4 separate regions of the Homo sapiens genome follow, and regions 2, 3 and 4 are each linked to region 1. The links are contacts of gene promoters, found by promoter capture Hi-C in blood cells and fetal thymus (Javierre and others, 2016). All regions are on one chromosome and are shown on one strand. Each heading gives the region's core, a stretch centred on a gene start or on the middle of the fragment in contact. The rest is flanking DNA. Distances are from core to core; before and after follow the strand shown.

Region 1 (3,279 bases), core at 364-2,863:
ACTGCCTCTGTCCCATGCTCTTAGTCTCATGGCTCTCAGGAGCAGGACACAAGAGACGGTTATGCCCAAGCACAGAACACTCTTGGAAAGCCATCCTTTCCCTTCTGCTGACATTCTGACCCCCTCAAGGGTTGTCCATGGGGAACAGGCTTTCTGCACCCAATTGACCAAAAAATAACAGAAGCCTTCTCCTTAAGAAAGAGAGCAGGCCAGACACAGTGGCTCACGCCTATAATCCCAGTGCTTTGGGAGGCTGAGGTGGGAGAATTGCTTGAGCCCAGGAGTTCAAGACCAGCCTGGGCAACACAATGAGACCTCGTCTCTACAAAAAAACTTAAAAATTAGCCAGGCATGGTCTCAGCTACTCAGGAAGCTGAGGTGGGAGGATTGCTTGAGCCCAGGAGGCTGAGGCTGCAGTGAGCCGTGATCATGCCACTGCACTCCAACCTGGACAATAAAGCAAAAGATCCTGCCTCAAAAAAGAAGAAAGAGAACAGAGCCCTACAGAGAAGGAAGAAGGCAGGCACATTGTCACTTTTGCTCTCAAGCTCCCTGGATCTCTCCTAGAGGAGAGACCCCCAAACCTGCCTGCACTCCGCAGGAGCTGACTGGGGGAGGACCCTTTCCAGGGACACCTCCCTGGAGGTGCTCTAATATTTGGCTGCTTGGCCATTCTGGGCCAAGAAGACTCCTTCCCTAGCCCAGGACCATTAGTCTCCCTGATGATTGCTGCAGAAAGGCCCAATTTTCAGGGCCCTACCTAGCCCTTCAATACCTTTGAGCCACCCATCTTGTCTGAGCCAGAGTCCTAAAGCCAGTCCTGAGCTTCAAGACCCATGCTTGCCCTGGCCACTGCTTCCCCTGGGAGAGCTGCCTGGCTTCCTGCAGAGAGCTGGCCTGCAAGTTGGAAGGGCATATTCTCCTCCCGGCTCCCTGGCTAAATTGCTATAGAATTTCAGGTCACTCAAGTGAACTTTCTGTGACTATTTTTTCCTCCCTTCAAGATTTATCAACTATTAATTGGAGCCTCTAGATGCCTGCAATGTGGAGGTCCTGAGAATTCAATACAGAATAATACAAATGCAGTTCTTCCTGTGAAGCCTGGACAACCTTTCCCTTCCTTCCTTCCTTCTTTCCTTCCTTCCTTCCTTCCTTCCTTCCTTCCTTCCTTCTTTCTTGAGTTTCCTGATGCCAGCTCCTCAGATGGTGAGCCAGCGGTGGGAAGGTAGTGGTGGGGGTGATTATAAATACAATAAGAAATAAACCCACACACTGCAAAACTCCATGTTAATACTATTAATAGTATTTCCAAATTGCATACAGGTAGAAGACAGTTCCTTAGCAACATGATCGTAATGAGAATTCCACAAGGGCATCTGGAATTTACTCTGTCAGACATTCCAGCTTATCAGGAAATGAAAAGGACCAAGACTATCATATAATGTGCAAACTATGCTAATGCCTATCACTAGTGTATATCAGACCCCAGTTACAGGACTGACCCATGGGACTCCCCTTGTCTCAGCTTTAATCACATGAAGTACCTGAGGCCTGTTGTCCTCCTCGGGGCTCAATGCCTTCTTGCGGCCAGGTCCTTCGTATAATTCAAGAGTTGAAATCACTGTCAACACAGCCCTTTGACTAATGTTCCGGGGTGACAGGCCTGGCACGTGAACACATGAGTGATGCTATTATCCCCCAAATCACAGGTGAGTGAGGTCTCTGGAGATGTCCACCCCCACATGAATTTCCCTTTGTGGTAGCAGTAACATCTGAGTCACTAAGCATGGGGCCACAATTTAGGCTCACTCCCTCCCCTTCCTGTGCCCCAAAAGGGGGCTGAAGGCGGGTCCTCACAGCAGAAAAAGCTCCACTTCCTCCGAGCTCCAGACAGCACATCTCAGCTGTGTTGGGCCTTACAAGGCTGCGGTCAACAGGCACCCAGGTGATGAGGTCTTTCTCAGCCTGTTGTTCTCTTGTTAGCCCTTTGATGTTTCAAAGCTGACGAGGTCAGCATCTTCCAGGCTGCAGGAAACATGCCTGCCAGGTATACCTTTCAAGCAGCTGATTAATATGTCATGTGGTCTCTGGTCAGAGGAGAGTGTAAGGGCTGTTGAAATGACTCACCAGCTCAGCTCCCGTGTCTTTGGGAAACGCTACCCTGTCAGCAAGAGGCCTCCAGCTGAAAAGTAAAGACACAGATCTGAAAGGGTACAGTTCTAGCGTCCAACAAACTATTATACATCCTAAATGAAGTGAGAAATGGTAGGCTCTTCACCTGCCAGGGCCTGGCGGGGCCTGTGTCCCAGGACTGCTTAGGAATCCAAGCCTCGCACTGTTTATCCATTATACTGATGAGAAGCCTGTGAGACAGGGAGGCTTGCTGGGCCTCCAAAGTCCACTTGCTGGCTTGTTACTTGGCACCATCAGATCTACGCTAGGGATGGTGTAACTAGAGCCTTTGAGTGCATGAAAAGTCTGTGGCCTGACAAAGCACTTACTGACCAAGGAAAATCAACTTCAGGTGCAGCAGGAAAGGTCTGGTACCCAGAATGTCTGGGGTTTTGAGACACTGGAAAAGATTGCCTAATAATGTCATGGGCTCCCTTCCCTGGAAATAATCTGAAAATAGGATAAGTTCCCTCCAATCTTGGATGGGTCAACCTCGTCTTGAGGTAAGGAGACGGTTACATCAACCCATGGAGAGGGCCTGTCAGCAACTCTGAGTCTATTAGAGGGTATATTTTCAAACACAAAAAACTTTTTATCCTGGTAAAATATACCTAACGTAAAAGCTACCATTTTACCCATGTTTAAGTGTACAATTCAGTGGCATTAAGTACATTCACATCGTTGTATAAGCTTCCCCGTCATCTCTCTCCAGAACTTTTTCATCTTTCCAAACTGAAACTCTGTGCCCATTAAACACTGACTCCTCTTTCCCCTCCTCACAGCCCCTGGCAACTACCATTCTCCTTTTCATCTTTATGATTTTGACTACTCTAAGTACCTTGCATACGTGGAGTCACGCAGGGTTCTTGTGTGACGGGCTTGTTTCACTTAGCACAATGTCCTCAAGTTTCATCCATGTTGTAGCATGTGTCAAAATTTCATTCCTCTTGAAGGCTGAATACTATTCCATTGTGTGTGCATGTGCAGGTGCATGTGTGTGTGTGCGTGTGCAGGTGCATGCGTGCGTGTGTGTGTGTGTGTGTGCATGTAGCACGTTTTGTTCATCCATTCATCTGTGATGGACACTTGGTTGTTTCCGCCTTTTGG
Region 2 (3,279 bases), core at 398-2,897, 310 kb before region 1:
TTGGACAATGTCCAGGGTTAGTGGCACAGCTGCTGTTTCCTGCAAGGGACATCTCAAATCCAGAAGGGAAAAAAGACAAAGTTAAATATATAGCAGGAGGATAATGACTGAACCTATTAACCCATTTATGCCTAGTGTTCCATTAGTGGAACACTAAGCTTGTGGGAGTTATTTATATCCTCATGCTTAAGCTCATCACCAAGGTCTGATTTTTCACATAAAAATTTTGCAACCTCTGGCATAAATGGGTTAACAAGAAGGAAGGGATTTGCCTGTTACAAGATCTGTCTGTAATCACATATAGCCATTGGCAGAAATTACAGTTTACATTTAGAAGACATGTTTAAAACTCTTTACCAAAGGGCAACTGATCCAATAATAATGATAGCAACAACAATAACATCTATTTATGGCACCTAATAATTTTAAAGTTCCTTTGTGTACGTAGTTTTATATTCACAACAACCTAGTAAGGCCTGTAAGTTGACTGGAGAGGGCTAGGGTATGTAAAACTAGGTAAAGAACTTGGATTTTATCCTAAGCATAATGCAAAGTTTTCAGCCAGGGATGGACATGACTTGACTGACAGTTTAGGAAGATTACTTGGCCTGCTCTGTAGGAGTATAGACTGTAAGGGGGCCACATGAAAGCCAGGAGACAAGTCAGCAAACATAACACTAATCCAGGAGAGAGATTATGGTGGCTCAGACTGGGGGGTGTGGTATAGGGGATGGCAAGTGGTCAGATTCAAGATAAATATGAAGACATTCCTTACAAAATCTGCAAACAGATTGAATGTGAAGTGTATTTTAAAAAATGAAGAATTGGCCGGGCGCAGTGGCTCATGCCTGTAATCCCAGCACTTTGGGAGGCTGAGGCGAGCAGATCACGAGGTCAGGAGTTCGACCCAATATGGTGAAACCCCATCTCTACTAAAAATACAAAAAAAAATTAGCCGGACGTGGTGGCACACACCTGTAGTCCCAGCTGCTCAGGAAGTGGAGGCTGGAGAATCACTTGAACCTGGGAGGTGGAGGCTGCAGTGAGCCAAGACTGTGCTGCTGCACTCCAGCCTGGGCAACAGAGCAAGACTCTGTCTCAAAAAAAAAAAAAAAAAAAGAAAAAAAGAAAAGAAAATTAAAAAAAAAGAATTATCTGTGTATTTTTTATCTTAAACAACTGAGAATGGTGTCATTTTTTCCATTCCTAGAGTTATTTAGGCCAAAAAAATCTAGAATGTTGAAGAGAACAGATTGGGGTGGGAGGTGCAGGTTAGGGGATTAAGAGTTCTGTCCTAGAGGGCCGGGTGTGGTGGCTTACGCCTGTAATCCCAGCACTTTGGGAGGCTGAGGTAGGCAGATCACAAGGTCAAGAGATGGAGACCATCCTGGCCAACGTGGTGAAACCCCGTCTCTACTAAAAATACCAAAAATTAGCTGGGCGTGGTGGTGCATGCCTGTAGTCCTAGCTACTTGGGAGGCTGAGGCAGAAGAATTGCTTGAACGCGGGAGGCGGAGGTTGCAGTGAGCTGAGATCACGCCACTGCATTTCAGCCTGGCGACACAATGAGACTCCATCTGAAGAAAAAAAAAAGGGGTTCTGTCCTAGAATAGTTGCATTTGAGATATGTAAGTGACCGGGCGTGGTGGCTTCCAGCACTTTGGGAGGCTGAGGCAGCAGGATTGCTTAAGCCTAGGAATTCAAGACCAGTTACCTGGGCAACAAACACAGTGAGACCCTGTCTCTACAAAAAAAATAAACAAAATTAACCAGGCCTGGTGGTGTGCACCTGTAGTCCCAGCTACTTGGGGGGCTGAGGTGGGAGAATGGCTTGGGCCTGGAAGGCCAAGGCTACAGTGAGCCCTGATTGTGCCACTGCACTCCAACCTAGGCCATAGTGTGAGACCCTGTCTCAAAAAATAAATAAATAAGAAGAGAAAGATATGCAAGTGGACAATGACAAAGCAGCTGAATAAATGAGTCTGAGTCTAGAGCTCAGGAGAATGGGCTGAGCTGTAGTGAGAATATGGCAGAGATTGATCCTGGGGATACATCAACATTTAGAATAGAAGAGAAACCTGCAAAGGAGACTGGCAGGGAGGAGAGGATCAGGTGGGAAGAAATCCATGAGAGTGTGCTTTTTCTGGAAGCCAAGTGAAGCTAATATTTCAAGAAGCAAGGAGTTAGGTCCAGTGCTGCTAAGAGGTCCAATAAGATGAGGACTGAGAATTGACCCTTGGATTTGGCAGATACAATCAATGGTGACCTTGACAAGAGTGATTTCAGTAGAGTGTAGGGGACATAAGCCTGCCTGGGGTAGGTTAAAGAGAAAAACAAAGAGCATGTTCAATTCTTTAAGGTTTTTCACTACAAATGGAAACAGTGAAATGGAGTGGTAGCTGGGGAAGTCAAAGGAGGTTTTTTTTTTAAGGTGGGTGTTTTTTATTTCGCATTTTGATATTGATGTACATAATGCAGCAAAAAGAGAACATGTAGTAATGCTGGAGAGGAAAGGATAGGTAACCATTGGTAAAAGACCTCAAAGGTATTAGAAGGGATTGAGATGCTCGTCCAAGTGTATGGGCTGGCCTTAGGCTGAAGCAAGACTGCTTCAAGAGATACAAAAGCAAATTCATTACCCTAAGAATGGAGTACATCACAGCAGGATTCCTGGAGAGAAACAGAAAAGAGGGTCATTAAAAACTTATGTCACCACTTTAAAGAGGGAAGAAAGTTCTGTTTGGCTCTTTTGGGGACTCCAGAAGAAAAGTAAAGGTATACTCATAAGCCCAACTTTTTAACTTTCTAGTTACCAGAACACCAAACAAGGATCTTAGAATATCAGATTTTCAATTAACCCTAGAAAACTAACAGCATTTGAGTAGAATTCAAATATATGTGAGAGAACATAATACATAAATACCATCTGGGAAGTTCTCTAATCAACATTCTCCTTCCCTAGCACTCACTGTTGGATCTGTAGTACATGCATATGTGAGTGAAGAGCTCTTTCACAAATATGAAAGAAGCATAGTATGGATGTAGGGTGATGATTTACTTAGTGTGGTAAGTGTCTCCAAGCAACACAGTAAGGGACAGAAAAAGCTGGGCCAGCCTGCCTCTGGGAGAGACATGCCAAGCTTTTCTATCTCTGTGAATCTCACAAGTAAATGAAAATAAGTGCAAGTAGTACTATAGTAATTAAATCAAACTATCTTCTTTGAGAGTGGCTTTGTATGTGTGTCCCCATTATTTGCTAATTTACTATTTCCCACTGCT
Region 3 (3,279 bases), core at 386-2,885, 280 kb before region 1:
GTCCCCTTGCTGTTCAGTCAAGTGGGTGGCCACCTGGCTTTCTCCTTGTCCCAAAGTACTTCGTTGGATATGTAAAGCGACCAAATGTTACTTCACTGTAGTTTGAATCTTACCCAGAAAGAGTGACTGGTAAAGGACATGCCACTTTGCACCCTTCCCAGCTCTCTCCAAAGGCAGCTGGCTGAATGCACACTTCTGAGGGTGATGTTTTTTCCAGCACTCAGGGATATACCCAGTGTGAGATCAGAATCAGCAGCTGTATTCATTCTGCCTCAGCCAGTGCCATCTGAAACAAACATCAAGTGGTCAAAAAATGAGATGGTGACCATGTATAATACACAAGACTTATTAGAATTCAACTCTGGTATCCGCCTGCTGCCTCTGACTCTACAATGGGAGCAGGAAAGCAAAGCTCATACCAGGACAGCTGAAAGGTGTGGTCTGAGGATTTCATGGTGAACAGATAGAACACACTGTGGGGGAAAAAAAACATATTTTATGCAAGCATCTTTCTGGCTTGTCTTGAATGAAGCTAAATTTAAAGAGAAAGTGCCACAGATTTCTTTAAATGGTTAGGTTTTTGTTTTCTTTGTTTTATTTTGCTAGTATTTACTTAAGGGTAATATGTGTTTTCTGTAATGAGTGAATTTATTTTTAATTAAAAACTTATTTGCAAAGGTCAAGAGATTTCACTACAAGTCACCATTCAGGATTTTTTTTTTCCTTTCCTTAAGTAGAAGGTAGCAAGGGGAAAGCTGTATTGGAGAAAAGGTTCAGGGGCATGGCCTCCTGGAGAATGTTGGGAGTTGAGCTGATGGGAGGAGATTGCTTCTTTTTATTCAGACAATCTAGTTCTGTTCTTCTTATGCCTACTATTGTTTTCCTTGCCATCTTTGAGACCTTGATGATCGACACTGCAGACACAGCAGAGAATCCTAGTACAGACTGAAGCTTTTCGTATAAAGTGAGCATGCTCACTGTGATTCTGGACAGTTCCTACATAGTATCTCTGTAGGATAACATATGTCTTGGTTTTCTCAGGGCAAGCTCAGTTTATCTCTGTTATCCCAGTATAACTATTAAAATGTCCCCATTTCATTTTCAAAAATGTCCTGGTTGGATAAGAACTTAAAGTATTTTGTTAAGACTCTGGGAAACTGAAGGTATTTTCTCCCTGTCCATGAGCCAGTGGAGTTGTTGAGTGATTTGTGCTGGTGCATACCAGTCTCTAGCCTAGTGGATGGCTCACCCCCGCTTCTCCCCTACCTTGTGCTATGGAGGATCCATCCCTAACTCTTGCATTCCAGAGGTTCTGATTGCCTCACTTCTTCCTGTCTTCTGCTTCACATTTCTTACCTTTCTCAGTAACGAGTTTGCTGAGACTTGCATCAGCCTAGGTATGTTGTGCAAGTAAAGCCTCTGGACTGCATTCACTCCTTTCACCTCCAGCCAAGAGACATCAGGAATGAAATTTTCTGCTTTACTAAAGTGAAGCAGCCCATTCTTTACCAGCCAAATGCCTTCCTCGGTGGGTAAATGGTATTAGTTGAAGCAGTTATTACATAGTTTTATGCCTCAGATCCTGTATTTATAAATCTGAAAGACGACTAATAGCTTTAAAGTATTTTGAGAATCTCAAAGCTCAGAAGATTATAAATAACAAAAGATATATTTTTTCGTATCTAAAATGGTAGCACAAATACTGCGGTTGCTTACTTAATAGATAGCGTGTGGTCCCTGAGCCATTGCAGCTGATGGGTTTTTTCCAGTGCTCTATTTATAGAGCTAGGTCAGAAATATCACTTCCGTTGGAACCTGACCTATAGACCATTGTCAATTTTAGAGACCCAAGGAAGTAGAATGCACCCTAAATACAGCTGGTTCACAGATTCAGTTAGTGAACCACAAGCCCTCAAGGAAATTAATTTTGCTGGAAGATAAATGTCTGAGCCTATCCCAGTCTCTTTTCTTTGACACCTTTGTCCTGTGGTCTCACAGAGCTTGTAGGTCATCTTGAATCTTTATTCTAAAAATAACCTATTATAGGCAGTTTCCCAGCTTTAATAACTTACTCATCCTCTTCGCCTTTTGTTGCTAAAATTCTGCATTGAATGGAACAAGAACTGATGACCTGCCAAGAGAGGTAACCAAGATTCTCAGTCCCTTCCCCAGTTCAAATGGATGGTCCAATAAAGAACCATGCTCAGCAAGTGCCAGGGGCCTAGTTTTAAACAGGAGAAGCTGAATTGAATGGATGATGAATTGAATGAATGAATTGAATCCTTCTGATCCCTAGTCTCGCACTCAGACTCCCGTCTTTAAGCTTTGTTACTATGAAGTTGTGTTTGCTGGGACTTGGCCACTGGTCAGCACAGGTTTACCCATCATAAAGTCTTACTAAGTAGGGTAGACTAAGAAAATCTCTAGTCTGGAGAGAAATCTGCTATCAGCAAAAGAACCCATGCCTGTGCTCTTTTCAAGCACAAACGGGTGCTGGGTAGGGCACAGCGATTCAAAGACAGCGCATGGAGTGGTGCATTCTCAAACTTCCTGGAACAAGTGAGGTTCTCGATGAGGAACTCATTCATATCATCAAAATACCAAAGACTCAAAGTTTTTTAATAAGGCAGGAACTATTGAGGTCATTTACCCCTTCTTGTCATGGATGAGGAAACTGAGGCTCAGTGAGGTTAGGTAACTGCTCATTACCAAGGCCTACTCTGAGGTTCTTTGTTACACTACTCTCCTTCTCCCACCTGGTCTCATCAAAAGCCCAGACGGAGTCAGAAATAGAACTGCAGGGTCCTGCTTTCTAGCCAGCAGCTGGCCACAGGCTATCATGCATTACATGGAATGTGCTTCAGGACGTGAGGACAAGAGATATGAACGAGAATGCAGTTCCAGTGGTAACATACCATCTTCTTCCCTGGATTTATTTCAATCCTGAAAACATTTGTAGGTATTGTTATTCCTTTATTTTTTTAAATTTCCTCTTTCTACTCTAAATAAATGGGCTTTCATCTGCAGGGACTGGAGGGACCAAATATCCAGAATATCCAGTCCGCTAAGGCCATGAACTTTTCCTTCCCCTCTGTTCCTATTTTGGGAGTCATTGCTTTGTTTTTTTGACTTTTTTTTTTTTAACATGGAAAAGCATTCTTTTAAAGTTGACCCTTTTGCTGCAGGGCAAATGCTTTTCTGTTATGCACTAGAGATTCAGTTTGATCTCCTAGAAATGCTTAGCACAGGAGTCATAAATTGAAATGTTTTCAGAGAAGG
Region 4 (3,279 bases), core at 502-3,001, 260 kb before region 1:
TCCATAAAGAGTCTACTTTGTGCCAGAGTTCATAAAGTGAAAGCAAGTTTATTAAGAAAGTAAAGGAATAAAGTATGGCTACTCCACAGCACAGCAACCCGAAGAGCTGCTGGCTCGCTATTTTTATGGGTTTTTTTTTTATTATATGCTAAACAAGAAGTGGATTATTCATGAGTTTTCCTGTAAAGAGGTGGGCAATTCCCAGAACTGGGCGTTCCTCCCCTTTTTAGACCATATACGGTAACTTCCTGATGTTGTCATGCCATTTGTAAACTGTCATGATGTTGGTGGGAGTGTCTTTTAACATGCTAATGCATTATAATTAGCGTATAATGAGCAGTGAGGACACCAGAGATCATGTTCATCATCATCTTGGATTGGTGGGCTTTGGCCAACTTCTTTACTGCAACCTGCTTTATCAGCAATGTCTTTGTGACCTGTATCTTTTCTGACCTCCTATCTCATGCTGTGACTTGGAATGCCTAACCTCCTGGGAATACAGACCAATAGGTCTCAGCCTTATTTTTACAGCTTGTTTTCAAGACAGAGTCACTCTGGTTCAAATGCCTCTGACAGTTATCACTGTTTTAATTTAGGAATAAAATGAGGTGCTAGAAAAGGAGGCCTTGACTTGGTGATGATTCTGCTGGGTTGCAATGAATGGTCCTTATTATCTTCCTCTCTGACTTTCCTGAACGATGATTAGACCTAGAATGTCATTTGGTTTACCTGTAAAACTTAGTGAGTTATGTATTAGGATAGCCCCTCCCACCCTGGGGCAGGAACATGAAAGCAGTGAGATGAGGAGCTTCTTCTTGCTTTTTTTCTCTTGCTCTAGGCATTATTTGACTTTGAAATACTCCTGGCATTTTCCTGTGATTCTGAAGTGCCCCTTCCTCTGCTTGTGTGTGTGAGATTTGAAAGCTTATCACACATGTGGCTAAAGCAGGTCCAGCTTGGAGCATTCGTCTTCTGGCTGCTGTTGCTGGGGGAGTATCCCTGCTGTGAGATGCTACGCCGCCTGAGCCTGTGGCCTCTGCTTATCTCCTGGGGTGGCTGTGGCTGTGAGGTGCACAGCATGGTACAATGCTAGTTTTCATTTCAAGTCCTTTCTTGATGTCACTGATGGGTGCAATGAGTGGAGTGGGGGGACCTCAGGCCCTTCCAAATTCTTTCTTTTTTGTTGTTGTTATTTAGTTTTTATTTCATAATCATAAACTTAACTCTGCAATCCATCTAGGCATGGGAGGGAACAAGGAAAACATGGAACCCAAAGGGAACTGCAGCGAGAGCACAAAGATTCTAGGATACTGCGAGCAAACGGGGTGGAGGGGTGCTCTCCTGAGCTACGGAAGGAATGGTCTGGTGGTTAAGATAAAACACAAGTCAAACTTATTCGAGTTGTCCACAGTCAGCAATGGTGATCTTCTTGCTGGTCTTGCCATTCCTGGACCCAAAGCACTCCATGCCTCCACAATATTCGTGCCTTCTTTCACTTTGCCAAAGAGCACGTGCTTGCCATCCAACCACTCAGTCTTGGCAGTGCAGATGAAAAACTGGGAACCATTTGTGTTGGGTCCAGCATTTGCCATGGACAAGATGCCAGGACCTGTATGCTTTAGGATGAAGTTCTCATTTTCAAATTTCTCCGTGTAGATGGACTTGCCACCAGTGCCATTATGGTGACTTCACAGTCACCACCCTGACACATAAACCCTGGAATAATTCTGTGAAAGCAGGAAACCTTATAACCAAATCCTTTCTCTCCAGTGCTCGGAGCACGAAAATTTTCTGCTGTCTTTGGGATCTTGTCTGCAAACAGCTCGAAGGAGACATGGCCCAAGGGCTCGCTGTCGACGGCAAATTCAAAGAACATGGTGGGGTTGACCATGGCTAATAGTACACGGTTTTCCTCAGCGGTGGCGTCCGCAGAGCACCCAAATTCTTAATAGCTTATAAAATTAGGGGTAGAGGAGGTTGGGTGCGGCAGCTCACGCCTGTAATCCCAGCACTTTGGGAGGCCGAGGCAGGTGGATCACGAGGTCAGGAGTTTGAGCCCAGCCTGGCCAAGGTGGTGAAACCCCGTCTCTACTAAAAATACAAAAATTAGCCAAGTATGGTGGCAGACACCTGTAATCCCAGCTACTTGGGAGGCTGAGGCAGGGAATTGCTTGAACCCGGGAGGTGGAAGTTGCAGTGAGCCAAGATCGCACCACTGCACTCCAGCCTGGGTGACATGGCGAGTCTCCATCTCAAAAAAAAAAAAAAAAAAATTAGGGGTAGAGGAATGGGAAGCAGACAAAAGGTTTACATTGTGGAGGTTTGAGGAGAAATGAATCAAATAAGTCTCTAGCATTCTGTTTGACTTTATGTTAGTCTGATTATGTTACCATAACATTTTATGATATGCTACACATTATCTGATGGGTGATTAATTTTCAAATGTAATACAAATCATTGAGCTTTCCTGATTTCTGCCGCTGTAAATAATTTGGAATTTTCAGTTACTGCAAAGTTGACATAGTCACTCCTTCCTTCCTGTAACCTTCACCTTACCTTGTTGTCCCCTCCCTGCCCCCAAGCTTCCCTGGATTTTTAAATCAGCCAGTGGCTCCTGGCAACTGTCTTAGAATGCTTGAAGCCGAGGTTTTTTTTCACTGAGGGTCTCTTTCTAGAAGTTTCTCTTCTTACCTTGGCAGAGCTTAAGAGTTCTTGCATCTCAGACAAAGACTGTGTGTGCTTGACTGTTGGACATTCATTTTATTGTTACAAAGGGACCATGATTTTGAGAACACCTTTGGAGAGCCCAGCTCCCATGGTTGTATCCCACTGCCCATTTTCTGAATCCTCAACTCAGAATTGGCAATGAAAGAGTGAACTGGGATTATGATCTGTGATTCTCTAACAGAATTCTCTGAGAGTCAAACTCCAGAAAGAGGCTCATCTTTACAAACCTTAAAGAATTAGAGCTAAGGCACCTGGTATGTCTGGGAGGGATTGAAAACAATCCCCCCAAAGCCCCAGCGGCCCTGGCTCTCTGGTTGCTATGCTGAGTTGATTCATCCATTTATTGAGAGTCTACTTTGTACCAGTTATTCTGCTAAGTGCTTTGTGGGCATTTTCTTTTTCAAGCCTCACGAAAACTCTGAGGTGGGTATTACTAGATATACTTTACAATTGGAGCACATTGAACGTTATGGAGTTTGAAAATTTTGCTCTAAATCACATGGTTCTAAGGGGCAAAGCCAGAACTTTCCTTTTCCTTTGCCTCTCCCTCCC

What was found. The method cuts DNA at HindIII sites, captures the fragments that hold promoters and counts their contacts. A CHiCAGO score of 5 or more calls a contact.
Region 2: a fragment that was not itself captured here is called in contact with the fragment with the promoter of RAD51B-AS1 in region 1 in 7 of 17 cell types (M0 macrophages, non-activated CD4 T cells, total B cells and 4 more); the score reaches 7.6 in M0 macrophages.
Region 3: a fragment that was not itself captured here is called in contact with the fragment with the promoter of RAD51B-AS1 in region 1 in 6 of 17 cell types (M0 macrophages, M2 macrophages, total B cells and 3 more); the score reaches 8.3 in M0 macrophages.
Region 4: a contact is called between a fragment that was not itself captured here and the fragment with the promoter of RAD51B-AS1 in region 1, in 1 of 17 cell types (non-activated CD4 T cells). The highest score is 5.7, in non-activated CD4 T cells.

What each region holds. Positions count from the first base shown.
Region 1 is chr14:68,683,827-68,687,105 of GRCh38, forward strand. RAD51B-AS1 (RAD51B antisense RNA 1) reads right to left here and starts at 1,614. Exons shown (of 4, transcript XR_007064220.1): 1 at 1,545-1,614. RefSeq lists enhancers at 1-318, 1,902-1,951. The HindIII fragment of the contact is 3,133 bases long and covers 1-2,860 here.
Region 2 is chr14:68,369,937-68,373,215 of GRCh38, forward strand. All of the region lies in intron 8 of RAD51B (RAD51 paralog B), which reads left to right. Among named protein-coding and RNA genes, the nearest start is that of RAD51B-AS1, 310 kb to the right of the region's middle. RefSeq lists an enhancer at 2,247-3,102. The HindIII fragment of the contact is 2,982 bases long and covers 157-3,138 here.
Region 3 is chr14:68,400,186-68,403,464 of GRCh38, forward strand. The region is part of intron 8 of RAD51B (RAD51 paralog B); the gene reads left to right. It overlaps LOC101927971 (a long non-coding RNA gene), which reads right to left. Exons shown (of 4, transcript XR_245776.5): 2 at 114-286. Among named protein-coding and RNA genes, the nearest start is that of RAD51B-AS1, 280 kb to the right of the region's middle. The HindIII fragment of the contact is 1,372 bases long and covers 950-2,321 here.
Region 4 is chr14:68,420,306-68,423,584 of GRCh38, forward strand. All of the region lies in intron 9 of RAD51B (RAD51 paralog B), which reads left to right. It also overlaps the pseudogene PPIAP6. Among named protein-coding and RNA genes, the nearest start is that of RAD51B-AS1, 260 kb to the right of the region's middle. The HindIII fragment of the contact is 1,658 bases long and covers 923-2,580 here.